2 separate regions of the Homo sapiens genome follow, and region 1 is linked to region 2. Evidence: promoter capture Hi-C in human tissues and cell types (Jung and others, 2019). All regions are on one chromosome and are shown on one strand. The core of a region is centred on a gene start or on the middle of the fragment in contact, and the rest is flanking DNA. Distances in the headings are between cores, read along the strand shown. Region 1 has its middle 42 kb from the start of CTPS1. Region 2 holds the start of SLFNL1 (schlafen like 1).

Evidence for each region. Contacts are between HindIII fragments. The study calls those that stand out against the background at their distance.
Region 1: a contact is called between a fragment that was not itself captured here and the fragment with the promoter of SLFNL1 in region 2, in 3 of the 25 tissues and cell types used here (aorta, hippocampus and mesenchymal stem cells).

The regions. Positions count from the first base shown.
Region 1 is chr1:40,935,108-40,940,435 of GRCh38, forward strand. It overlaps the pseudogene LOC100128362. Among named protein-coding and RNA genes, the nearest start is that of CTPS1, 42 kb to the right of the region's middle. The HindIII fragment of the contact is 6,881 bases long and covers 1-5,328 here.
Region 2 is chr1:41,020,171-41,025,303 of GRCh38, forward strand. It overlaps SLFNL1 (schlafen like 1), which reads right to left and starts at 1,555. Exons shown (of 6, transcript NM_144990.4): 1 at 1,453-1,555; 2 at 694-700; 3 at 56-608. The coding sequence starts at 490. All of the region lies in intron 1 of SLFNL1-AS1 (SLFNL1 antisense RNA 1), which reads left to right. The HindIII fragment of the contact is 20,466 bases long and covers 1-5,133 here.

The sequences.
Region 1 (5,328 bases), core at 1,302-3,801, 84 kb before region 2:
TAAATAGCCTTCTGGAGTCTTTGGTAATCCAATTACTAAAAAGGAATAGGTGGGTACAGTTGTTCATGCCTGTAAGCTTAGCACTTTGGGAGGCCAAGGTGAGAGGATTGCTTGAGCCCAAGGGTTCGAGACCAGCCTGTGCAACATAGCAAGGACCCCCAAATCTATTTTATTTTATTTTTAAATAAAATTTTTTTCTAGCCCATAAGATATGGCAGAAAGACCCCATAGCAAAAAAAAAAAAAAAAAAAAAAAAAAATTAGCCAGGCATGGTGGCATGCAGTGCAGTCCCAGTTAGCTACTCTGGGGGCTGAGGCAGAAGGATCACTTGAGCCCAGGAGTTAGAGGTTACAGTGAGCTATGATGGTACCACTGCACTCCAGCCTGGGTGGCAAAGTGAGACCCTGTCTAAAAATAATAACAATAGGCTGGGCACGGTGGCTCACACCTGTAATCCCAGCACTTTGGGAGGCCGAGGCTGGCAGATCACCTGAGATCGGGAGTTGGAGACCAGCCTGACCAACATGGAGAAACCCCATCTCTACTAAAAATACAAAATTAGCTGAGCGTGGCGGCTCATGCCTGTAATCCCAGCTACTCAGGAGGCTGAGGCAGGAGAATTGCTTGAATGTGGGAGTGGAGGTTGCAGTGAGCCGAGATCGGGCCATTGCACTCCAGCCTGGACAAGGAGAGTGAAACTGTGTCTCAAAATAATAATAATGAATAATAAAAAGGAGTAGATCATGGACACAGTGGAAAAAATATTTACTTTTGCTGAGTTGACACACATTACTGAACTAAGAAAGCATGAAACTTACAATGTACCACTACAAAAGAACATTGATGACAAATGGATAATGAGAATCAATTAAAAGAAGATTTACAATTAATTGTACAAGAAAATTGAAAATGTCCTGAAAGAAACTTGATGGAGGTTTTCACAACTTTGGCAACAATCTTAATAATTGAAACAACATGACCTAAAGTCAGTTATGATGCTAGACGAAACTTTACTAAATTACCAATTAAAAAGTATTTTTCAATAAACCATTTCAGAAGAAAGAGAGAATCCTCTCTCCCTCCTCTCTGTAGAAACACAAAATTACAAAAAAAAAAAAAAATTTAAGTTGTTATATTGGAGAGGCAACCAAAGAAAATGTAGCCAACATATAGGATATTATAGAGGTATGTCAGATGGCAATTAATGAAAATTTATGTATTTTTCTGGATTCTGTGACTTTTGAGCTATTTGTCAGCTGCTAAAATCTTATCTGTTGTGATTTATTTTCTCATTACAAATAAACCTTCATGTTTATACCTGCATTTGTTAGCTACTGGTAGAGTACTGCTGTGTAACATATGGTCCCCAAACTCAGCGGCTTACAAGTATTTATTGGCATAGATCTGCAGATCAGCTGGGATGCTTTAGGCCACAGCAGCTGTGAGCTAGGTTATCTAAGCTGGGTCAGCTGGATGGCTTTGCTCCCTGTATCCCTCATCTTCCTCCTGGGACCACTGTGCTAACCAGTGAATGCCCTCATGTTGAAGACAAGGTACAAAGAAGAAAGACCCAGACTCAGAAGTAACATGCTGTCACTTCCACTCAATCCCATTGGCCAATGCAAGTTACATGGCCAAGGCCAGAGTCAAGAAGAGTAGAAATACACTCTGACACTTTAGTGGCCCAAACTGCAAAGTCATATGGCAAAGATGTAGACCCAAGGAGGGGGGAAGTATTGGGTCCAGTAATGCAATCTCCTGTAGTACCTAATTTTGTACTTAGAATTTTGCAGTCTTTTTCATAAAGAGCCCTCCTCACCATACAAACACACACACACACACACACACACACGCACAGACACACACACACTTATATAAACCTCAGGCTTTCACAAAACCTGGATCTGTCCCTGCTGGCTATACTCTTTAGGGTGCCTGCTTTAATAACAAACACTGCAAATAAGAGCTTCATGAGTAATTTTTTCTGAGCTCGCAAGTTTATTATGAAAACTCTGCAGTGCTCTTGTGCAATAAAACATCACTTTACAGGAAGGGGCAAAAACAGCTCTGTTCAAAACCACTCACTAGGTTCTGACAATAACGAAGAATGGCATGTGGCTCAGATTTGAGAAGGCGACAAACTGAGTGGAGGCAAGTCTTATAATTAAATTAAATGGTATCCCTGAAAATAAACAGAACGATTTCAAAACCCTTAAGTAGAGGGGAGGGCTTGGCATTTATTTTTTTTAATTTCATTAAGTTCCAGTGATCCAGTGATTGTTTTCTGCTACCCCTATGTACAGTCATGCTGAGTAAAGCTATAGCTAGATGGAGGTTAAATTGTATTCACAAAGTGAATTTACATCTTATTATCTGCGGTCTCTCAAAGAAAGCAAAAGTAACTGCAAACACCATGTTGCTCCAGCATACAATGAACTGGTTTATTCTAAAGTGATCACGGCTTGGTGACAAAAAGCTTTGTATTTTTATATGGCACAGCTTTTAGTCCATGTGAAAACAAATTTTTTGAATGTTAACTATTTTCTGACACTTTGGAGTTACTGTTGCTGTCCCCATTTCCATTAAGTCAATATACAATTCATGGCAATCCTGTTCAAATTTAAAATTCTTTTTCTTTTTCTTTTTCTTTTTTTTGAGATGGATTTTTGGTCTTGTCTCCCAGGCTGGAGTGCAATGGCACGATCTCGGCTCACTGCAACCTCCGCCTCCTGGGTTCACGCGATTCTCCTGCCTCAGCCTCCCCAGTAGCTAGGATTACAGGCGCATGTCACCATGCCCGGCTAATTTTGTGTTTTTAGTAGATTTTAGTGTATTTTGTATTTTTAGTAGATTTTAGTGTATTTTATATTTTAGTTTCACCATGTTGGCCAGGCTGGTCTTGAACTCCTGACCTCAGGTGATTCTCCCGCCTTGGCCTCCCAAAGTGCTGGGATTACAGGCGTGAGCCACCATGCCCAGCTTAAAATTTCATTACAGGAAGTAATCTGGGGTACAATGAGTAACATGTGGCTTGCCTCTGTGAGGTGCTGGGTCATACTGCAAAAAAAGAGTATTTTAGAGTATTATCAAGTTCCATGATTGCAGTGTGATTACCACAATGATAGCAATAGTTTGGAGTACTGAAGATGGCTACTACATTCCAGTCATGACACCAGTTATGTCCCACCATCACCAGCTGGTGAGCTCTAGACACCAACCTGAGGCCACTGGCATGATTAAATGTCTCAGGAGTATCTTGCCCAAAGGTGTAACCATCTCCTCAAAGAGATATACCCCAGCCACCATGGTCATCTGGATCTGAGTATAGCAAGTCACCCATTGGACCCTCATGGGGAATTTTCTGTAGGCAATTCAGTGTTCTGATGTGATGCAGTGTATCTACAGATGGCGACAGGCCACCATGGAGACAGAAGAGCTGCCCATCCCCCAAGGCAGTGAGAGGAAGATGGCCTGTAAAGGCCGGGCATGGCGGCTCATGCCTGTAATCCCAGCGCTTTGGGAGACCAAAGCAGGTGGATCACTTATGCCCAGGAGTTCAAGACCAGCCTAAGCAACATGGTGAAAAACTCATCTCTACAAAAAAATACAAAAAATTAGCCGGGCATGATGGTGCACGCCTGTAGTCCCAGCTACCTGGGAGGCTGAAGTAGGAGGCTCACTTGGGCCAGGGAGATTGAAGCTGCAGTGAGCCATCTTTGTGCCCTTGGACTCCAATCTGGGTGGCCCAGTCTTTGAAAAAAAAAATCTGGAAAATATTTCTAAACATTTGCATTTCCATGTTTTCTTAAACACTCTTCATAGGAATGATAAACTTGTGTGATCTGCCTGCTCTCATGATTCCTTGGAAGAATGGTGACGCATTCATGGTAAGAAACCTTAACAGCTAGGAGCAGCATAACTATTTCAATTGAATAATATCCTCTGTCAATATAATCTCCTGTAAACAAGTAATTTGTATCTGGTAATTTTCTATTAATTTTTTTTTGAGACAGGATCTCGCTATATTGCCCAGGCTGGTCTTGAACTCCAGGACTCAAGCAATCCATCTGCCTTGGCCTCTGAAAATGCTAGGATTACAGGTGTGAGCCACCACATCCAGCCTGTATCTGTATCTGGTAATTTTCTATTTTTGTTTTGGTTTTTTTTTTTTTTTTGAGATGGAGATCTCACTCTATCACCCAGGGTGGAGTGCAGTGGCACGCTCTCAGCTCACTGCAACCTCCGCCTCCCAGGTTCAAGTGATTCTCCTGCCTCAGCCTCCTGAGTAGCTGGGAAGCTAATTTTTGTATTTTTAATAGAGGCAGGGTTTCACCATGTTGGCCAGGCTGGTCTCCAACTCCTGACCCCAAATGATCCGCCCGCCTCAGCCTCCCAAAGTGCTAGGATTACAGGCGTGACCCATCACGCCCGGCCATCTGGTAATTTTCTAAACAGTTCCATGAGAACATGAAATTGCCCATGCTTATCTCCAGAGACAGTGACTGGACACCAAACCTCTTGTGCATTGGATTCTTCTGTCAGGATTTCTTTAGCCTCCTTGCAGAGGCTCTTGACCTGGGACTTGGATAGCTACTTTCTCTGGTTCAGCTGCTTGATCCACTGGTCCAGCTCCTTGGAGAACACCTCATCCATGATGCCACCTGCCCGAGCTGGCTGCTGCACACGGGCCACATGCATCTGTGGCCACTGACAGTTGCTTGGTGCTGCTGCTGGCCCACAGACTCTCCACAGTGCTCGGCCAACAACTACTGTGTCTCTTCCCTACTCACTCTGGCTCCAGAGCTTGGTTCTCTGAAATCGTGAGTATTTCGAAATACTTGAAACAACAAAGTTCAATTGAGTTCAAAGTCCACTTACATCATTGCAAGCAATTTCATTCATTCATGCCAGAAAAGCAAGTACTGTTAGAGTCTTCCATTAAAATTTCAATTTCATTTTAAAATTTTGCGCAGGAATTTTGTGTAGCTGTTTCAGACAAAAAATCTAAAAATTGATGTGCACAGAAGGAAGCTCAGATCTCTAAATAAAACTTTTGAAAAGATTTTATTTGGAAGTATTTACAAATTCACATTTAATATCTTTGCTAATTGTTTTTCAGGGGTATCCCAGGCCCATGAAATTAGATGATTATAATCCTTGGTTTATGGTACATTCTTTTTTTTTTTTTTTTTTTTTAGACAGAGTATTTTACTGTCACCCAGGCTGGAGTGCAGTGGTGCGATCTCAGCTCACTGCAACCTCCGCCTCCTGGGTTCAAGTGATTCTCCTGCCTCAGCCTCCCGAGTAGCTGGGATTACAGGTGCACGC
Region 2 (5,133 bases), core at 305-2,804:
GAGGCTCTCCCTTGGGGTGAGGCTTTGGAGCTTGCTTGGGAAAAGTCCCACTTACCTCTCTGTGGCTGAAGGGCCCTTGGGCCTCACTCAATAGCAGGTCCTTCCCACGGGCTGCCAGCTCCTTGAGGATTAGGTGCTCCTCCAGGGCCGTCTGCAGGCGCCAGGGGAGGGAGGCCAGGGTGTCCCTGTGGACAGTCACCTGCACCAGTGCATAGGCCTTCCGCGGCCGCCTCACCACTTCAATGTGCTCCCGCGCCACCGGCATCTCCAGCCGCTCCAGGGTGTCTCGCAGCAGGCAGGCAAGCACCGGCACTGAGAACTGGGGGTTCAGATGGCCCACATAGAGAGTGTGCGCCGAGGGAGCCTCCTCGAGGTCAGAGTACTCCGTCAGGGACTGCTCTGCGGGTAGCTCCGGCAGGGACTCCTCACCCCAGGACTCCATGAAGGGCTCTGACACCTGTGTTTGCACTGATCTCTTCATGGGGGTCATGGGAAGGCTCTCCCTGGGAAGGGGTTCCAGGATTCCTCACTGCTGGCTGCTTCTCCCAGGGTCTGTGTTCTCAGTGTGGCTTAAGGGCTCCCAGAGGACTCAGGGAGTGTCCCGGCTCCTGGGAGGTACACAGATTGGCAGAGACTGGGCAGGGCCAGAGAGAGGGAGGGCAGAGGGCAAGCAGGAAAGGGCCTGCCACCCACCTGAGGCCTAGGATGAGAAAGCAGAGTCACGTGGACTGAGCAAGACACAGGGCCTGTGGGAAGACGGGATCTGCCCAAAAAGTGGCAGAAGGGACCAGAACTCAGGTCTCTGAGAGCTCCACCATTTCAGTGGCCCCAGGGGTCCTGTCTTCCCTCCCCAACCCACAGGCTAGGGGCCTCCTAGGTACCCTCAGGGTTTCCTGCCTACCAGTTCACTCCTGCCTCCAGGCAACAGAGAAAACCTTTACACAGGGCCTCCTGGAGAGGAGGCCTTAACCCAGGACTCTGAGGACTGGCTGGTGGCCCCATTGCAGCTTCTCTGCCTGCTCTAAAACCCCATGTGAGGCCATCGGGGGCTCTGAAACTAGGCAGCGCTGGGGCAGAGGCTTTTAGAGCAGAGGATCTCACGCTTTTTGGCACACTGATGAAAGCTATGGCCTCTCAGAAAAATGGCCTTTGCATATAAACATAACTTAAGGTGGCTCCTAGACCCTAAGAACTAGTCTAGACTGAGTCCTCCATTTTTGGTCCAGAGAGCAGAGGTCAACAGGGCAGAACGAGGGTTAGAGTTGGGGCCCTAGTGCCCCCGCCCCAAGTCCAGGGAGCCTCTGTCCTGAGCTGTGCACATATGTGCACACACCAGCCCCTCTACTGCTCCCCACACACCCAGCCTGCATCTTCTCAAATGGAATCCTTGAGGCAGTTGGCCTGGGGGCATTCAGGTCAAACAGGAAGAGGAGGAGAGGAGAGGCCTATGACCTTCATGTCCTGGTGGCTCCCGCGGGAGCATGGGAGGTGCCTGCCCTGAGCTCCCATAGCCTCCCGACCCCTGGCCGGTAGCTCTCAGGGAACTTGGAGGCTTGGCACAGGGACGGCCAGAACCAGGGTTATAGGAAGTGGGCGGGGCCTGCACAGCTACCTCTGTGATCTCATGAGGTTCAACAATGCCTTCTTGGCCAGCCACAGGCAGGCTGGGTGCGGGAAATCAAACAGGAAAACTCAGCTCCCTGTGGGTCCCACCACACACTGGAAGCAGACCCAGCGGCCCACCCACCATGCAGCTTGGCTGTGGGACACACTTCCCCACTTAGTGATGTCTCTTCAGGCCCCAGTTCCCATGCAGGTCACCTCTTGCCACCTCTTTCAGCGCTGCTGCCTAAAGCCTCCACCTCCCTCTTTAGTCAGTCACCAATCCCAGGCTCTACTGAGTACTGACAGGGCCCAGCTGCTCCCAAGATGGAGCAGGAGGCACATGGTAGGCTCCAGGGCTCCCCCTGACGCCAGGCCCTTCTCTGTGCTGGAGACAGAGGCTGCTGTCCAGAAGAGCCCTGAAAAATAGGTCAGGCGTAGCTATCTATCTCTTTGGGAAGATGAGGTTGTTACCTGCTGTTGGAGAAACCAAGACGTGGGTGACACACAGTCTTTATCAGCACAGGACTGACCAGTGCTCATCATTCTGCAGAAGGCTGGCAGCGCTTGCCCACACTGCTTCTGGAAGCCCCAATTGGGGGCAGTAAGGATGGTGCCACAGTTAGATGCTTCAACTAAGAAAGCTGTTTGACAGCGTAGAGAAGCTGCCTTCCTTGAAAGCAGCCTTTCTGAAGATGTTACCAAATGTTTGTTTCCTAGGGGGTGAGGCAGTAGTTTGGGTAGAGCACTCAAGAAAAGAGGCTATGGTGTGCGGGGAAGAGAGGGGCGCAGGCCTCAACTGGTGGCAGTGCGAGGCTCTGGGGAGAGTGCATTCGGTGCCCTCTCCTTGCCCGCCCGGGCAGCAGCCAGGTTGGGCTCGGCTTTGTGTCCACAGCTCTTAGGGTTAGAGAATGACGGCTCCAAGCTCCCCCTGCCTCACCCCCTCTCCCTCAAGCCTTTCTTGCCTCTGTCATCCATGAGGTGCCCTCACAGCAACTGAGGCTATAGCTGTTTTGAGATGGCCAACTCAAGTCGTGTTGAACTGTGCAGAAATAGCTGTCCGGGAGAAGCACCTTGACAGACGAAACACCTGAACATGACCAGAGGCGTTCTCCCTACTTACCTAGAGGCCTTGCTATTGGGTGGCTGTTCTGCATGAAATTTCCCAAATTGACTTGAGTGCAGCAACTTTCCCCACTCTTCCTGGCAGTCTCTTTAAGCCACTGCATCACATATTTCTCTGGCGCCTTTAACAGCCTTCTGTGAGCTGAATCAGTTCTACTTCTTTTTGGAGATGGGGGTAAAAATTGTCTTTCATGGTAAGCACTAAACACATTTATGAACCATCTTTTAAATACATAAATATAAGATAACAAGGTTATTTACGGTGTCTCTGGCTCTCTAGTATTAGGTAATAGTATTAGAAAGTATAGGTGCTCTGCAGGCAGCTTGGAGTGGTGGGTTCCCAGTGGGGGGATAAGCAGCCCCGTTAACCCTCTTGCTGGATGTCTGTGACCTCACTGACAAACCTCATCTTGAACTGAAGGAAAAAACCCTAGAATTTAAGCCTCTTTATGAATGTGAGGTGGGGCCCAAAGATGAGGGGCAGAGAGCTGAGCCGCTGTGGATGGCCTCTTTTCATGTTATCTGGACAGTGTCCACTGGGTGGCCCACATGGCCACAATCCCTGAACCCACAGCAGGCATGCCATCCCCTCTTCCCCACAGCTCCCACTTCACAATCTGCTGTTTGCCCAGGAAGGCCAGTCAAGGGGCAGAGGGATAGGGAAGAGGAATGAGCCCAGCCAGGTGCAGGAGAGAACAAGGATGATCAAGAAGAGCGAACTCTGGGGAGCAGAGTTACAAACATAGCTTTCCAGGTCCTGGGACCCACATCACTCCAGCCTCCCTTGGTCTCAAGCCCTCCCCTAGCGTGCTGCCTCCAGCCTGTAGATCCCCACCTGGCTCTGACAGGGCCCAGCCCCAGTTACTGCAGAGTATCTCTGACTTGAGTGGCTCCAGCCTAGTGTCTGTGCCCTGGGTACTGTGGGCTGCCAGCCTCTGTGAGCACCTGCAGTGGCTTTGGCACTGTAGGCACAGAGCCGCAGTTCTGATGCTTGGCTGTGACTGCCTCTGGGCTGAAGGCTGGAAGCTGTGGCTCTGCCCTGACGGAATGTGGTGGCAAGACCATGTCCAGTGACTCAGGGTACTTAGGTAAAGAGGCTGCAAAAAGCTGAGGGCTGCTGAGGGGAGAAGTGTTGGGACCCTCTTCTCAAGGTTTCCCACACTTTTTGTTTTGGTGGTAAAGAAGGAGGGATGATTCACCTTCAGGCTCTTGCCAACGAGGGAGTGTGGCACCAGTGTGAGGGCCGGAACAGTGTCCATTTGGCCCACCATTGCTACACCTCAGGGATCAATCTTAAGGAGTCCCATAAGACCCCCACAAAGAGTGTCTGGACAATGCAGTCCACGGCCAGCAGGCAGGGTGGAGCCACGGCTGGGGAGGGCGGAGTGTTCCAGAAAAATGCCCCACACTCCCATGGATTCGGCCTTAGGTGGGGCCTAGATCTCTGTTACCTCCCAAAGTGTTTGGTGTTTCCCTCCTGAGCTCAGCACAAAGTCAGTGTCATCTCCCTGTCCCCCCATTGAGGGTGAGCACATGAAGCTGATGCCATGAGACCTCTGGCACCTGTGCCTTTCCACCTGGTGGGCTACTGGACTGCTGGGGTTCACGGAGTGGCCTCTCCAACACTGCAGCATGTGTGCACTGGGTCTGAGGCCCGTTCGAGTGCTTTTAATGATTCTGGGTCACTATTAGAAGGCTTTTGGCTTTTGAAACAATTTCCAAAGTTGAGGGGTTTTTTTCTTTCTTAAACAACATTTAATTTTGACCCCAGAGGTTATGGCAGCGTGAATCATCCTCTCCTTTCCTGCAGAACTTGACATTTGGTTACCTTTCTAGTTCTTTTTGTCTGGAAACCAGATAAAAGTATGTTAGCTGTTTCAGTGCAACATTACTTATGGTAAGCATGATTCCTAATTGTAAATTATCAGCACTTGGAGTTTTCTGTGTGAACTATAAACACTTGTTAAAAAGCCATAAGGTTGGGCGTCCTATGTGGAATGACTCAATTGGGTATGTGGCTTATGGGGTCCCTGAAAGCTATGCCTATTGAGTTGTTCAAAGAGATATGAGCTCCTTTGGGGAATGATGCCTCTAAGCCACAGTGAACCAACCCCCTTCTCCCTGATGTGTCTCATTCCCTTGTACCTGAGCTGTCACCTGGGCAACCAAGGAGAATAACTCCTGATGACCAGAGGCTCTGTGAGGACTGCCCTCCTCCCCTGAAGAGGGCTGCTTCCCGCTGCCCTGCAGCCAGGCCATTTCTGTTTGACAGTCTTCAAAGTTAATGACATGCCCAGTGTAGCCTGCAGGGGTCTGGAGTCTGAATGGTAGCTGGATCTGAGACAAAGGCCCACGGGAGAGAGTTGCAGGCAGCAGGACATGTACCCCTTAACAGCTATGGAATTA